Regions from separate parts of the Homo sapiens genome. Here all the other regions are linked to region 2. Evidence: promoter capture Hi-C in 16 types of primary human blood cells and fetal thymus (Javierre and others, 2016). All regions are on one chromosome and are shown on one strand. The core of a region is centred on a gene start or on the middle of the fragment in contact, and the rest is flanking DNA. Distances in the headings are between cores, read along the strand shown. Region 1 holds the start of PLAA (phospholipase A2 activating protein). Region 2 holds the start of TEK (TEK receptor tyrosine kinase). Region 3 has its middle 25 kb from the start of EQTN.

What was found. Contacts are between HindIII fragments. The CHiCAGO score rates a contact against its expected background, and 5 or more counts as called.
Region 1: a fragment that was not itself captured here is called in contact with the fragment with the promoter of TEK in region 2 in 1 of 17 cell types (endothelial precursors); the score reaches 5.0 in endothelial precursors.
Region 3: a fragment that was not itself captured here is called in contact with the fragment with the promoter of TEK in region 2 in 1 of 17 cell types (endothelial precursors); the score reaches 7.4 in endothelial precursors.

What each region holds. Positions count from the first base shown.
Region 1 is chr9:26,946,726-26,951,175 of GRCh38, forward strand. PLAA (phospholipase A2 activating protein) reads right to left here and starts at 517. Exons shown (of 14, transcript NM_001031689.3): 1 at 172-517. The coding sequence starts at 320. It also overlaps a transcript of IFT74 not described here. RefSeq lists enhancers at 1-267, 11-270, 268-941, 531-840. The HindIII fragment of the contact is 1,706 bases long and covers 967-2,672 here.
Region 2 is chr9:27,107,862-27,112,778 of GRCh38, forward strand. It overlaps TEK (TEK receptor tyrosine kinase), which reads left to right and starts at 1,364. Exons shown (of 23, transcript NM_000459.5): 1 at 1,364-1,781. The coding sequence starts at 1,730. The HindIII fragment of the contact is 9,085 bases long and covers 1-4,917 here.
Region 3 is chr9:27,269,955-27,274,402 of GRCh38, forward strand. It overlaps the pseudogene REXO6P. Among named protein-coding and RNA genes, the nearest start is that of EQTN, 25 kb to the right of the region's middle. The HindIII fragment of the contact is 1,542 bases long and covers 1,612-3,153 here.

The DNA of each region.
Region 1 (4,450 bases), core at 570-3,069, 160 kb before region 2:
CCCGATGGTTTCTTACAGAGTTCTAATAGTCTGAGAATTGGAAGGGAGCGGAGAGCAGAGGGAAGGCTGGGGGGAGAGAGAGACGGCAGGACTGACAGGGAAGGGTCACTCTCCTTCCACTCTCCGGGAAGCGTGCAACACAGCCGGGGCAACCCGACTCCCAGCGCTCACCTGTCTGGGGCCCAGAGGCGGGTGGTGCGGTCTCGGGACACGGACACAAAGGCTCCCGGCGGATAGGCGCAGCACACCAGGCCCCGTACGTCCAGCTCGTGGCCCCGGAGCGAGCAGCTCAGCCGGTACCTGGTTGCGCCGCTCGTCATGGCCAGTGTCTGTCTGGCGCCCGGTGCCCAGGCACTGTGCGAGACCAGTCCGCAGGGGCGACTCGGAGAGCGCCGGGCCGCGGCGGGAGAAGAGCCTGCAGGTAAGGGGCGGCCGGAGACCGGAAGAGCCCGAGAGCCGGTACGGAAGGGCGGCTGGGAAGGGGCGCGCCGAGCGGGCCGAGTGACACAGCAAGCCTGACAGGCACTCCGGAATTCATCATCGGCCTCAGCCCTCCATGACGCAGAGTGTGTGCGTCCCAACCGCCGACGCCGATGCGGAGCTGAGCTGGCTTTCCTCCAGGGCTCTGGACTCCCTGCTGAGCAAGAGAGAAAGAGGCCCGCCCTTCCACCAGGACGCCTGACCCTGGGGTCCTTCCCAAACCCGGGTCTCTTCCGACTCCGGGCCCAACAGTTTGTGGTAAATCGGGAAGCGGGCCGGGACTACAATTCCCATAATGCCGCGCCAGCTGGCGTGGACATCCGGCGCGCCGAATCCGGATATTTTAAACCTGAGTCTTTCGCGCTGGGCATGGCGGAATGGCTGAGTGAGGTTGTTTGGTGTCTACTGTTAGGTCATCCTCACTGCTTTTCCCTGAGAATCTCGAGGTTTTTGCAAGTTAACCTTGTTTTTCAATTAAAACGAGAAAGCTTGAGGCCAAATTGGGAACTATTAATCATTGAACTATTCCTCCGTTTCAAGTTATCTGAATCTCCTACTCTCTGTTGTCAAATTTAGCAAATACGGTGGTCCAAGTCAATTTTTTAAAGGTATAACTACTTTTCTCTGGCGGCTTGTTAAAATGTAGATTCTGATTCAGTAGGTCTGAGTTAGAGCTGAGATACGTATTTTTAACAACCCCGCCGCCCACCCACCCGTGGTGCTACTTGCTAGTCATTATCAGACCTTATTGAGTGCCAGGGTAAACATGACCTGTCTCCTTACTTTGTTTTCTTCCCATCCGCTATTCTCTCGCATCCAACTACACTTTTCCACAAACCTTTCTAAATTGCTAAGCCCAATTCACACTTTTCTGACTTCTCCCTTCCTAAAACTCCTACTCTAGGTTTGGAATCACTTTTCCCCTGGTTTGGGAGATCATTCTTGAAATGCTGACTTTTGATACTTCTTTGCTATCATATCCCCTCCCTGGGTGGATTATTTACTACTTGGCTTATTTCTAGAGCTGTATTCCCATATTGTCTTCTCCAAACTCTAGATCTGTATTTCTAGCTATCTGTTAGAAATCTGTACCAATTAGTCCTACTTAAATTATTTCAACATTTCTCTGGCCTTTCTACCCCTTCTCTCCAGCCAATCCTACACATTAAAATATAATTATCTTTCTGAAATATACACTTAATTGTTTTTTCTCTGTTTGACAACCTGTGATGGCTTTCCATTATTTTTTTTTTTTTTTTTTTTTTTTTTTTTTTTTTTTTTTTGAGACGGAGTGTCGCTCTGCTGCCAGGCTGAGTGCAGTGGCGCGATCTCGGCTCACTGCAACCCTCGCCTCCCGGGTTCAAGCGATTCCTGCCTCAGCCTCCCGAGTAGCTGGGACTACAGGAGCGCGCCACCATGCCCAGCTAAATTTTGTGTTTTTAGTAGAAACGAGTTTCACCATGTTGGCCAGGATAGTCTCAATCTCTTGACCTCATAATCTGCCCTCCTCTGCCTTCCAAAGTGCTGGATTATAAGCGTGAGCCACCACGCCTGGCCGGCTTTCCATTCTTATAGTACAGCATTACATAGGGCCTTTCACACAATCTCCCTAATCTGTTTTACTAGATTCATCTCCCTCTGTTATCTCTCTTACTCTAGACATTTCGAATTTGTCACAATTCCCTGAACACATTATGCTGTATGCTCTCCATGTCTCTATGCTCTTTGTACATGCATTTTTTTTTTAAACTTAGAATTCCACTTTCTCCATCTGTCATAGTTCAACACCAGTTTATCTTCTGTTTTTTTCTAGTTCCTCTGGGGAACCAATGCAGTTTTGTCTGTTGTCAATATAGTATTTACTGCATTCTAATATGTTCTTTTATGTCTGTCTTTTCTACCGGACTACATTTTATTATTATCAAGACCTTTATTTTACATGAATCTTAACCATCTAATTTACTGCCTCCTATATAATAGGAAATGTTTTTCAACTTGGTATAGTATTCAGTTTACCAATTTTCACAGTCTCTCATTTAGTTCTCACAATAACCCTGCAAGGTAGATAGTATTATTCCCATTTCACACATGAAGAATTTGCCTTGTTTAAAAAATGTTAATTTGGAGGCCATTAGGTTGAGATAGTTCCAGCTCTGGAGCCCAACTCAATGTAAACAGTAAAATGAAACTTAAGCTTAACTAACAGAAACAGACAAACCTCTAACTAAGGACTTTCCACTTTAACCAATCAAGTAAGTATATTTTCTTAGTCTTGCTTCCACCAACCCCTTATAAAAGTTTTCCCCTCGTGCTGTAATTGCCCCTGTGTTCTTTTACACAGGGAAATGTGTAATTTCACATTTCCCTGTGTAATTGCCTGCTGCCTTCCAAAAAACCAATGCACTGAGAACTACAAATGTTGCAGCAGGGAAAGATGAATAATCACAGGGCCAGCCAACGAGGAGGATGGGAGATATTTCTCAAATCCACCTCCAAGAATGTAGAGACTAGGTTTTTAAAGGATCGGTTGGTGGGCAGGAGGCTAGGAAATGGGAAATGCTAATTGGTTGGGTCAGGGATGAATCACAGGTGTGTCAGAACTATCTTCGTGAACCTGAGTCATTTCTGAGGAGTGGGGTTCACAGGTCCAGGTTGTGTCTGTTGGTCTGCCAAAATGCTAAATTTGAAAAATATCTCAAAGACCAGTTAATTAGGTTTCACAATAGTGATGTTATCTGTAGGAGTACTTGGCGAAGTTACAAATCTTGTGACCTCTGGTTACGTGACTCCAGGGCAGGAGGCTCTATAGAAAAGCAAGCTAATTAGGCTGGGTGAGGTGGCTCACGCCTGTAATCCCAGCACTTTGGGAGGCCAAGGCAGGTGGATCACAAGGTCAGGAGATCGAGACCATCCTGGCTAACATGGTGAAACCTTGTCTCTACTAAAAATACAAAAAGTTAGCCGGGTGTGGTGGCACGCGCCTGTAGTCCCAGCTACTCAGGAGGCTGAGGCAGGAGAATCACTTGAACCCGGGAGGGGGAGGTTGCAGTGAGCTGAGATTGCGCCACTGCACTCCAGCCTGGCAACAGAGCGAGACTCTGTCTCAAAAAAAAAAAAAGAAAGAAAGAAAAGCAAGCTAATCAAACAATGCCAAGTTATTGTTTGAGCATGTCTATTCTTTAGCAAAGTTCAAGCCTCTACCATAATTCTAATCTTGTCTTATGAATGTAGCTTCAATCTCCATACAAGGAGTTGGGGTGGGGGGTCACTTTTCCTTGCCTCAAAGTTTAACTATAAACCAAATTCCTGGCATAGTTATTTTAGCCTCCACACTAGAATAAGCAAAAAACAAACTAACAATAAAACGACAACAACAAAAAACTAGTTTAGCCTGTGAGGTTTTGAGCAAAATGGAGTCAGTCATGTTAGATTTCTCTCATTAGTTATAATTCTGCAAAGGTAGTTTAAGTGCCCCTAGATGGAGTTTCACCACTTGTGGTTTGGTGCTGCCCAATTCATGAATCACTGTCTGCTCAACTGAACTGTTTAATACTTTAATGTGTGTTGTCTTTTAACAGCTTGATAGGAGGTTAATGCTCAGTAGATGTTATTGGTTACCTTAATGAATTAATGAATAACTGAAATAACTATTTTAATGTCACATAACTAGAACATAGTGCAGCTGGGACTAAAATTCTATGAACACTAAATTGGGTTCTTGATACTTTAAAAATAATTTTAATGTTTTTATGTGTTCAGCAGTTCAAAGGTTTAAAACAAATCATTTATGTCAACTGTCTGTCTGCATACAAATAACAATTCTGGATCCCCCTCCCATATGCCTGAAGGCATGAAGGAAAAATGTCCGTAATGACAGTAGTTCTCTCAGAGAAAATGCATGGAATAGTTGGGTAGCTGGACTAAACATCACAGTTTGTGTAAATTGAGGTAAACATCACAGTTTATGTTC
Region 2 (4,917 bases), core at 114-2,613:
CTCAAACTCCTGACCTCAGGTGATCCACTCCCAAAGTGCTGGGATTATAGGCGTGAGCCACTGTGCCAGGCCCACTGTTTTTGTTTTTTTTTTTCGTGATGACAAATTTAAAGTCATCTCATAGGAATAGAAAATAGCTTTTTAGTAGAAGCTCTTGGAATTTAAATTGAGACTGAATGGAAAGATGAAAGAAAATAAACTTATTAACATTTAATGAGAACCTTCAAAGAACTAGGCATAGTACCAAATGGTTTTATATTTTTAAACCTCATTTATTCCTCTCAAAACACCTGGGAAGGAGATATTTTTGCCATTTCACAGCTGTTGAAACTGAGGCTCAAAAAGACTAAGTAACTTTTCTCAGCTACACATGTGGCTGAGCCAGTATTTGAACCCAGTTCTGTTTGCAGACAGAACCTGGGCTTTTTCACACCTGCAAACTGGAAACATTAATTGGTTCTTAAGATCATCATCGATGTGATAAAACCTGGGACAGAAATTAGTCAAGACTAGCTGCATCTGCCTTTTCCTCTGGTGGGTAGGAAAAGGAGGAGTATAATGATTTCCTCAGGCATGAAGGTCGATGATGAGCAAAGTGTATACTCTCTAATCTAATGTCATAATTCATATTGTGGAGTAATTATCTGGATAAGTGTAGGGTCTCTGACCTCATTCTAGATATTGTACATTCCATGGCTATTTTCATTTTGGTCCATGAACTCTCTTTGCTCTCATGAGCACCATTTTTATCCCAATCTAATCCTGTATGTTTGTGTTTTTACACAGATTAGTTTTTAAATGTTATATATAATTTGCTTCTGAAACACCATTGCTCAATGACTACCAAATCTTTCTCATTACCAAAATCCTTCTATGCCAACTTCTTCAAGAAATTTGATCACCTTTAGATGAATTGTTAATGAAAATTAAAGCTATAGCCGGCAACATGGGTATCTTTGGGCTAATGGCCAACCAACAGGCCATCTGTGTGAAAGAAAACAGGCTAACAATTTTGGACTCTGGTCTCTTGGGGCTACATTGAGCATTGACCTCACCGGTGCTCACTGAAATTAATTGCTTTTCAGGTTGTATTTTCTCATCACGGAAACCTTCTTCTCCCAATTCAAACCATGTGGGTTAAAATGAGAAAACAAAAGCCAAAACGGCTTCCCACACCCAAAAGCTCCTTCTGTCAGAGATCCCAGTAGCCCCGGGAGAGCTGTTAGAAGTCTGAGAAGGATTGGTCATCATCGCATACCATACATAGGTGGAGGGCTTGTTATTCTCAGTTTCCCGCCTATGAGAGGATACCCCTATTGTTTCTGAAAATGCTGACCGGGACCCACACTTCCAACAAAAATTCCTCTGCCCCTACAGCAGCAGCAAAAGCAGCAGCAGAAGCAACAGCAACAGATAAGTGTTTTGATGAATTGCGAGATGGATAGGGCTTGAGTGCCCCCAGCCCTGCTGATACCAAATGCCTTTAAGATACAGCCTTTCCCATCCTAATCTACAAAGGAAACAGGAAAAAGGAACTTAAAACTCCCTGTGCTCAGACAGAAATGAGACTGTTACAGCCTGCTTCTGTGCTGTTCCTTCTTGCCTCTAACTTGTAAACAAGACGTAGTAGGACGATGCTAATGGAAAGTCACAAACCGCTGGGTTTTTGAAAGGATCCTTGGGACCTCATGCACATTTGTGGAAACTGGATGGAGAGATTTGGGGAAGCATGGACTCTTTAGCCAGCTTAGTTCTCTGTGGAGTCAGCTTGCTCCTTTCTGGTAAGGTTTGGCTTTATTTTTTTTAATTTAGTATTTTAAAAAACAGAGTTAGTGATTTCTGGGTGCTCTCCCCAAATCTCATCAGTGCTGATGAACAAGGGGTGGCTGTAGCAAAGGCACCATTTCTCTGTGAGTCTCCAGTCAATATGTGTGGAAGGATTGAAATGCAAAGGCTCTGTGGCATGAACTGATTTTGCTAGTTTGTCTTCTGGGTGATTGGCCCCTGTGTTAGAAACTCTTTGAGGACCGATTAAATCATCTTATTTGAAGAGATCCCCTTACTATCATGCATTATTTTCCTGCTCCTCATTCTGGAGTGTTTTTCTTATTGATTTTTTTTTTAAAGAACAAACCGGTTTTACCTGCTTTAAAGAAAATCTTCAGTAAAAAATGAAATTCATGCTGAGAAATACAGGGGCCCAATTAAGGCAGTGTATAGATTGTCACTGTTAAAAGGGAACAAAGATGCTTTTCTGTAAAAAGATTTTATATCTACATCCTATTTTAAGCAAAGCAATGAAATTGTAGGCTTTTTTTTTTTTCTTGTAGTTAGGGTCAGGGAGATTGGGGCTATTAGAATTTTTGTTTTATTTTAAAAAATGTTTGCCATGTAGTAATTCATAAAGGGTTTACTGGCCCAATGAAACAAAAATTTAGGCAGTTACCAAAATCTTTAACACAGGAGAGTATATGAAGCCTGTTGTAGAGTGAAGGAGTGGTTGGCCAGTGTGTTGGGTTCAGCGTGTTTATTGCTTAGATACTCCAGATAGTGGTGTGCCTCTGTAGCTCACTCAGCCTATGTGACATAGGTAGAAGGCAGTATCCAAACCTGAACTACATATCACAAATACATTTATCATTGCCATCAGTCTCTCCCCTTCGGTTTGAAAACATTCTAATTTTAATAACGAAAATCGAATTGATATTGGAGATGAATTTGGGAAAATTCACTAAACTTCATGGATATAGGGCATATTAATATAATTTGATTCGAGTATACATAAGTATCTGCTATATTTTCTAGGTGTTTGAACTATTTTATTAAATATTCAAAAAACAAATCCAATGAAATAACTGAGTTGAATACAGTTTGTTTTATAGCTCTCAACAACCAATATTTTGAGAATTTAATAATATTCTTTAAGAATGTGTAACACAAGTTGCTAAAAATTAAAAGATTTTAGGTGGCTTCAGTATTTATGTGGAAATTGTTTAAATAATGTTGACTTCTCCAATAATATGTACTTCAAATAATTATCATGATTCCATTTTTGATTTTTTTTTTTCTGAGTGCCATTATTTACCAGTGACATGAAATCTGGAACTTACTCTATACCAGGGATTATAGTGATGTGAAGCCCAGGTGTCTATAGTTTCTCTGAGGTACTTTGTAGGTTAATACACACACAACTGTTTTCATTCACTTTTTTTACTCCTAAAGCAACTGTGTTATAGCACTTTGCAATACAGGCTTAGAAGAATTGTCATAAAATCAAACAAAAAGGTATGTAGCCAAAATACTTGTTCCATGTCTAGACCTCAGATCCCTGGAAAAAACAGCACTGCCTTTAAAAGGCAGAGGACCAAGGAGAGGAAGTAGGTTCATGTTCTTGTTAGGAAGGGTGACACTAGCAAGGTTAGTTTCTGAGGTAGGTCTGTTGTCTTGATCGTAGCTTGCATTCCTAGTCTAAGCCTCCATGAGCATGACTGCTCAAGGCTTGATAATTGCAACAAGAATCCAGCTAGATAATGTCCACAGCCATAGGAGCCCGTTCCTCTAGTCAAACTCCTGGTAGACTAAAGCAGTGGAGCAAGGGGCTTATGGCTTAAAGGTTTATCTCTCTAGTCCAGTGGGTTGTTTCTTGTTTCTTTTTTCTGAACCCACAGACTGAAAAAAAAAAAAAGCCACTTTTTTTTAGTGAAGGTGGCTCTGGATGACAGAGTTGTTTACCCATAAGAGGGCTGGAGGGGATGTGTAGCTCTCAGAAGCTCCTTACAAATACTCCTAGATTCTGTTGCTTTCCTTTTCTGAATTGAGAATCATTGCTAACTTCAGCTTTCAAACAGGTTCTATTATATTAGCTTTTCCCTACTCTTCCTCATAAAACCAGGCTGTTCTCTTTAAAAAGTTGTATATGTAGAAAACTAACAAAAAAATCACTGTGATTTATCATAGTATCTTCTACGTGATCAACAATGATCTAATAGGAAGTCTCTAGTCTCATGCTTTCATACCTCTTTACTGTGTCACTTGACTTTTTTTTTTTTTTTTTTGAGATGGAGTCTCGCTCTGTCACCCAGACTAGAATGTAGTAGAGTGATCTCAGATCACTGCAACCTCCGCCTCCCAGGTTCACGTGATTCTGTGCCTCAGCCTCTCGAGTAGCTGGGACTACAGGCGTGCGCCACCATGCCTGGCTAATTTGTTGTATTTTTAGTAGAGACGGGGTTTCACCATGTTGGCCAGGCTGGTCTCGAACTCCTGACCCCAAGTGATCCGCCCGCCTCGGCCTCCCAAAGTGCTGGGATTACAGGCATGAGCCACCACGCCCGCCCTTGTCACTTGACATTTTAAATAACAACTGGATTCAGAGATAGCAGACATCTTGTCTGGGGTGGCAGAGGAAACAGTTGTAAGGTCAGGGAAGTGCTCCCAGATGAAACCCCCTTGTTAGGGCTGGTCTCAGAAGGCTAGTGTCAAGTCTGAGTAATCAAGGGTGGAGGTCTGAAAGCTGGGATCGGAGACACCCTTTGGAATTATTCTCAGAGGGAGGAGCTTGCTTTTTTCACAGATGCTCCCTTCCAAGCATTGTCTTTATTGTTTGTTAGGTCTCAGCATTTCCCTTTCAGCCCTGCCCTGGGAGAGCTTCCTGGAAGAGTCTAGTTCTTCCAAGGCGTCTCTCCAGGAGGGAAGGAGTCTTCTAAGTTCATCTCAAAAGACTATGTGATGTTCTCTGGGGAATTTAGGTGGGTGGGCTCTAAATTCTTCTGAAATTATCAGTTTGCCTCCTGAGCCTCTATCTCCCCAAAGGATATCTGTGTGATTGTATCACCTGCTTATTCTCTGTAGATGGCTTACTGGTGAGCTCACAGAATCAGGATTTAAATAGATTGTTCTAGGCTGGAAGGGTGGAAA
Region 3 (4,448 bases), core at 1,133-3,632, 160 kb after region 2:
AAATTCCTACCTCCCTTCCCTTCCCAGCTTAGTGGCGCCACGGTTGTGAAAGGTTGGCCCTGAGAGCCAACAGAGTAGACATATCTTTTTTAGAACCATACTAAAAGCATTATTGCTAGAGCACTATCAATATTCAAACAAAAAACCAGTTCCCTGAAAAATCTCTATTCCTAGGGTGTTGTGGGTATTTGATTTGACTCAGAGTTCAGAGTATGGAGGGAAAAAACCCTATCTCCAGGGTGCAACTGAAACAATAGCAATATCCTGGCAATATCACAGCTAGCTAGGGCTATGGTTTTAGTCTGGCAAACAATAGTTTGGCTAGGAATTTAAAAGAAACTCTTGGAGAACTAGATGACCCTAGAGATTTGTAAAGGCTCTGACATAATCCTGGGTTTAACAAGTGTTCCATTTAAGACCTGGGAAAAGAGAAAATCCTATTCATTCACCAGTGGCCAACCTTGAGGCCCTGCACAAGCAGGAAGTGAAAGCTAAGGCTGTCTTATAAACCAAAAAATAAAAGAGGAGGGAACACTTTCCAATTTATTCTATGAGGTCAATATAACCCTGAGACCAAAAAAGAGACAGAATCATTACTGCAAAGAAAACTACAATCTCCATCCATTATTGAGTGAACAAAATGGATAACAAAAGTATGGTTATACATACCGTAAAGTGTTATTCAGTTGTAAAAATAAATAAAATTTGAATACATGCTACAACATGAATAAACCTTTAAAACATTATGCTAAATGAAAGAAGTCAGACATACAAGGACAAACAGTATATCATTTCAATTACATGAGATAAATAGAATAAGAAAATTCATAGAAACATGGCTGGGCATGGTGGCATGCACCTGTAATCCCAGCTACTTGGGAGGCTGAGGCAGGAGAATCGCTTGAAGCTGGAAGGCAGAGGTTGCAGTGAGTGGAGATTGCGCCACTGCACTCCAGCCTGGTGACAAAGTGAGACTCTGTCAAAAAAAGAAAAAAAAAAAAGAAAAGAAAAGAAAATTCATGGAAACATAAAGTAGAATAGAGATTACCAGAGACTGAAAGGAGAGAGGAATGGGGAGTTATTTAATGAGTACAGAATTTCTGTTTGAAATGATAAAAAAGCTCTGGAAATGGATAGTAGTGATAGTTTCATAACATTGTGAATACACATCATACCACTGAATTGTACACTTAAATGGTTAGAATGGTAATTTTATGTTACGTGTATTTTATAGCAATTTTAAAAAGTCATTGACACTAACAAAAAACGCTACAGAACAATATCTGTGATAAATATAGACACAAAAATCCTCAATGGAATACTAGGAAATGTAACCTAGCAACGTATAAAAAAAGATTATATGCCATGACCAAGAACACCTATCAAATAAATGTAAGGTTTAACACAGAAAGTCAATGCAATGTATCATATTAATAGAATAAAGGATAAAACCTGTGTGACAGCTCAATAGATGAAGAAAAAAGCATTTAACAAAATCTAACACAATGAGGCACTCAACAAACTAGGAATGGAAAGGAATTGTCTCAACTTAATAAAGGTTATATGTAAAAACCCCATAGTTATCATTGTACTTAATGAAGAAAGACTTAAAGCTTTCCCCCTAGGATCAGGAATAAGACAAGCATGCCCCTTATTACCACTGCTGTACCCATGTTTCCTTTGTTAGGTTTTCTGAGCCATGGGGCTCCCCTGTGCAGAGGATGGAGCTAGCAGACAGTCCTCACCCTGCCCAGACCCCCTAGAAGTAACCAGGGGACTTTTGGTAACTGAAAAAGACCATAAAAGTCATCCAAGAGGGAAGAAGGAACTGAACCAGTCCCATGGCCTGGTTTTGAAAATGTAATGAAGAGAAAATGAATAAAGTTATTTGCTAGTTGTGCTCCATGAGTTTTTTATTCAATGTAATAATTTTGTGTGTGTCTTCAGATAAATTACATTATATAATACCAACCTTGTAAACAGCCTCATCCTCTGTTTTACAAACTTTCAAATACTTCTCAACAAAGAGGTTGATGTAGCGTTGTCTTACTTCATCAGGTACTTTGGATAAGAATTCTGATGTTACTGAATGTCTTTTCCGATGAGCCATCTTGTTAAATGTATCTTTTGGCCTCTTGTTAAAAATAAAAGTGTTATTAGAGAAAAGAAGACATGTTTCTGTTTAATATTCCTACTGAGTATATGGAAGAAGTAAAACTACCTTAGGTCAGTTATATCAAAATTAAATTGAAAAGTAATTTCAAGTGTCAAGTTGAAGAGGTAGAATAAACACAAAGTATAAAATTACTTAAACTCACAAAATGGAGAAGTGAGACTGCCACATCTGTGCTGCTACCTGCACGTACGCAATGATAGCTGATCACTCATCTAATTGTACTACTGTTCCACAACCAGATTCCTAAAGCTGGGATTTGCTCCTCTGATTCAAATATAGCAAAGTTTGTAGGTTGCCATCCTTCAACTATGTATCCCAATGTCTTTCTGATAGCACATCATTAAGAAAAATGCTTGGACTTAAAATTTCTGAGTGACTTGAGTATACTTAATATTAAAGTGATCCCAGCTATAAACTCTTAGCATTTCTTCTGAAGGACTTATAAAAAGACCCAGAGAACTTTAAAATCAGTTAATCTGCTTCACCTTTGAGGAAAAATAAAACCAAGCCAACATCATACTTCTCAGTAATTGTTTGCATGTAATACAAAGACATTTTAGGGATGGAGAAAACCTTAAAACTGCCAGGTGGTTTTCTGCTACAAAATAATTGGAAAACAGGGGAGGAAAATCACTGCCACAAGTAGAATAAGAATTACTTAAAGAAGGCTACAACATCATATCACTGATGGCATTATTTAGTAAAGAGCTGTCTCTGTCTCATATACATAAACAAATATACACCCTCACTGGACACAGCTTGAAACTTTCCTTTTAAAAAATGTTGAGTAGGTTTCAATTAACCATAGCCATAGATGTTTTAAGTCTAAAACAATGCCTACTATTTCCAAGGATAGAATCAACAAAACATCTAAGAGTGACACAAATTACATCATAATGAAAATAACTATATTCATCGGTAAGCTAAAAAATGTTGACATTTTTCTCTATTGGGTCTGGCATTTATCTGAATTTGAAAGCTTCAGAAAAAAATATAGCCACTCTTCCAGGGACTCTATATGTAAGCAGGATATGATGAAATATAATTCTGGTGTTCAGACTTAGTTTATAATACCTAAACAGAAAGAGAAGCAATACTTTTGACAGGAATGAACGATTTGGTTGGTTTTGCAGTTGGGTTTTCTCTTGAAAGAACTACATTCAGATGAAGGTCCATTGTGAGTGAATATTCTAAGAAGTTTTCATGAACAAGGAAAAGAAAAGATAAATTTTAATGACATTAACCTCAGATGATTAGAGTTTAATCATTAATTCAAAATTTCACAACACTTCCTTTATAGGTTTGAAACATGCAACCTGGAAGAAAACAACATTCAAATGCAAAAAAATCCCAATAACCCACTCCAGTATAATTCAGAAGAATGAATTGAGATAATTGATAAAACAATTGTAAAATACTTGCAAAATAGTACTACTATTGTGTATCATTTAGAGATAAACAAAGTATTGACTGGGAGTGGTGGCTCATGCCTGTAATCTCAGCACTTGGGGGGCCGAGGTGGGTGGATCGCTTTAAGGTCAGGAGTTGAGACCAGCCTGGCTAACACGGCAAAACCCCGTCTCTACTAATAATACAAAAAAAGAAAAAAAAAATTAGCCAGGTGTGATGGATGGCACATGCCTGCCCAGCTACTCAGGAGGCTGAGGCATGAGAATCACCTGAACCTGGGAGGCAGAGGTTGCAGTGAACCTAGATTGTGCCACTGCACTCCAGCCTGGGCCACAGAGTAAAACTGTGTCTCAAAAAAAAAAAAAAAAAAAAAAAAAAAAGATGTAGACAAAATATTTAAATATCAATCATATTATTTCATGTAAAACTGTGCCATTGATTCAACTATACTTGGTAGCATGTGGATTTTTAAGAAATATTTTTTAAAATGAAGTAAAATTCCATTTCTTAAATAAGTGACTTTTTTTTAAAAAAAGCTTTTTTCCAAACCTTTCCTTTGGCTCTGAGAGGCTGGACATGTAGATGCATTTTTCTTCTGTTCTGAAGTGGCATCAATAAAAGCCTTCCCATTCTTTATGGCAGCCTTTATCTGTACTGCTTTGCTGGGCCCGAATGATTCCAGTGGGGCTTGTTAGCAGTGGGACTGGTACCCTGAATGGTCTAATGACCTCTTTATTGGTTGAGGCCTATAGGGCAGCAACATAAAACAAATGAAAATGATGAAAAATTGATAAAATTGATAATTTTGCCTTTCTTCTATCATAGAAGCTCGTTGGGGGCCTTACAGCCAGCCACACAGTAA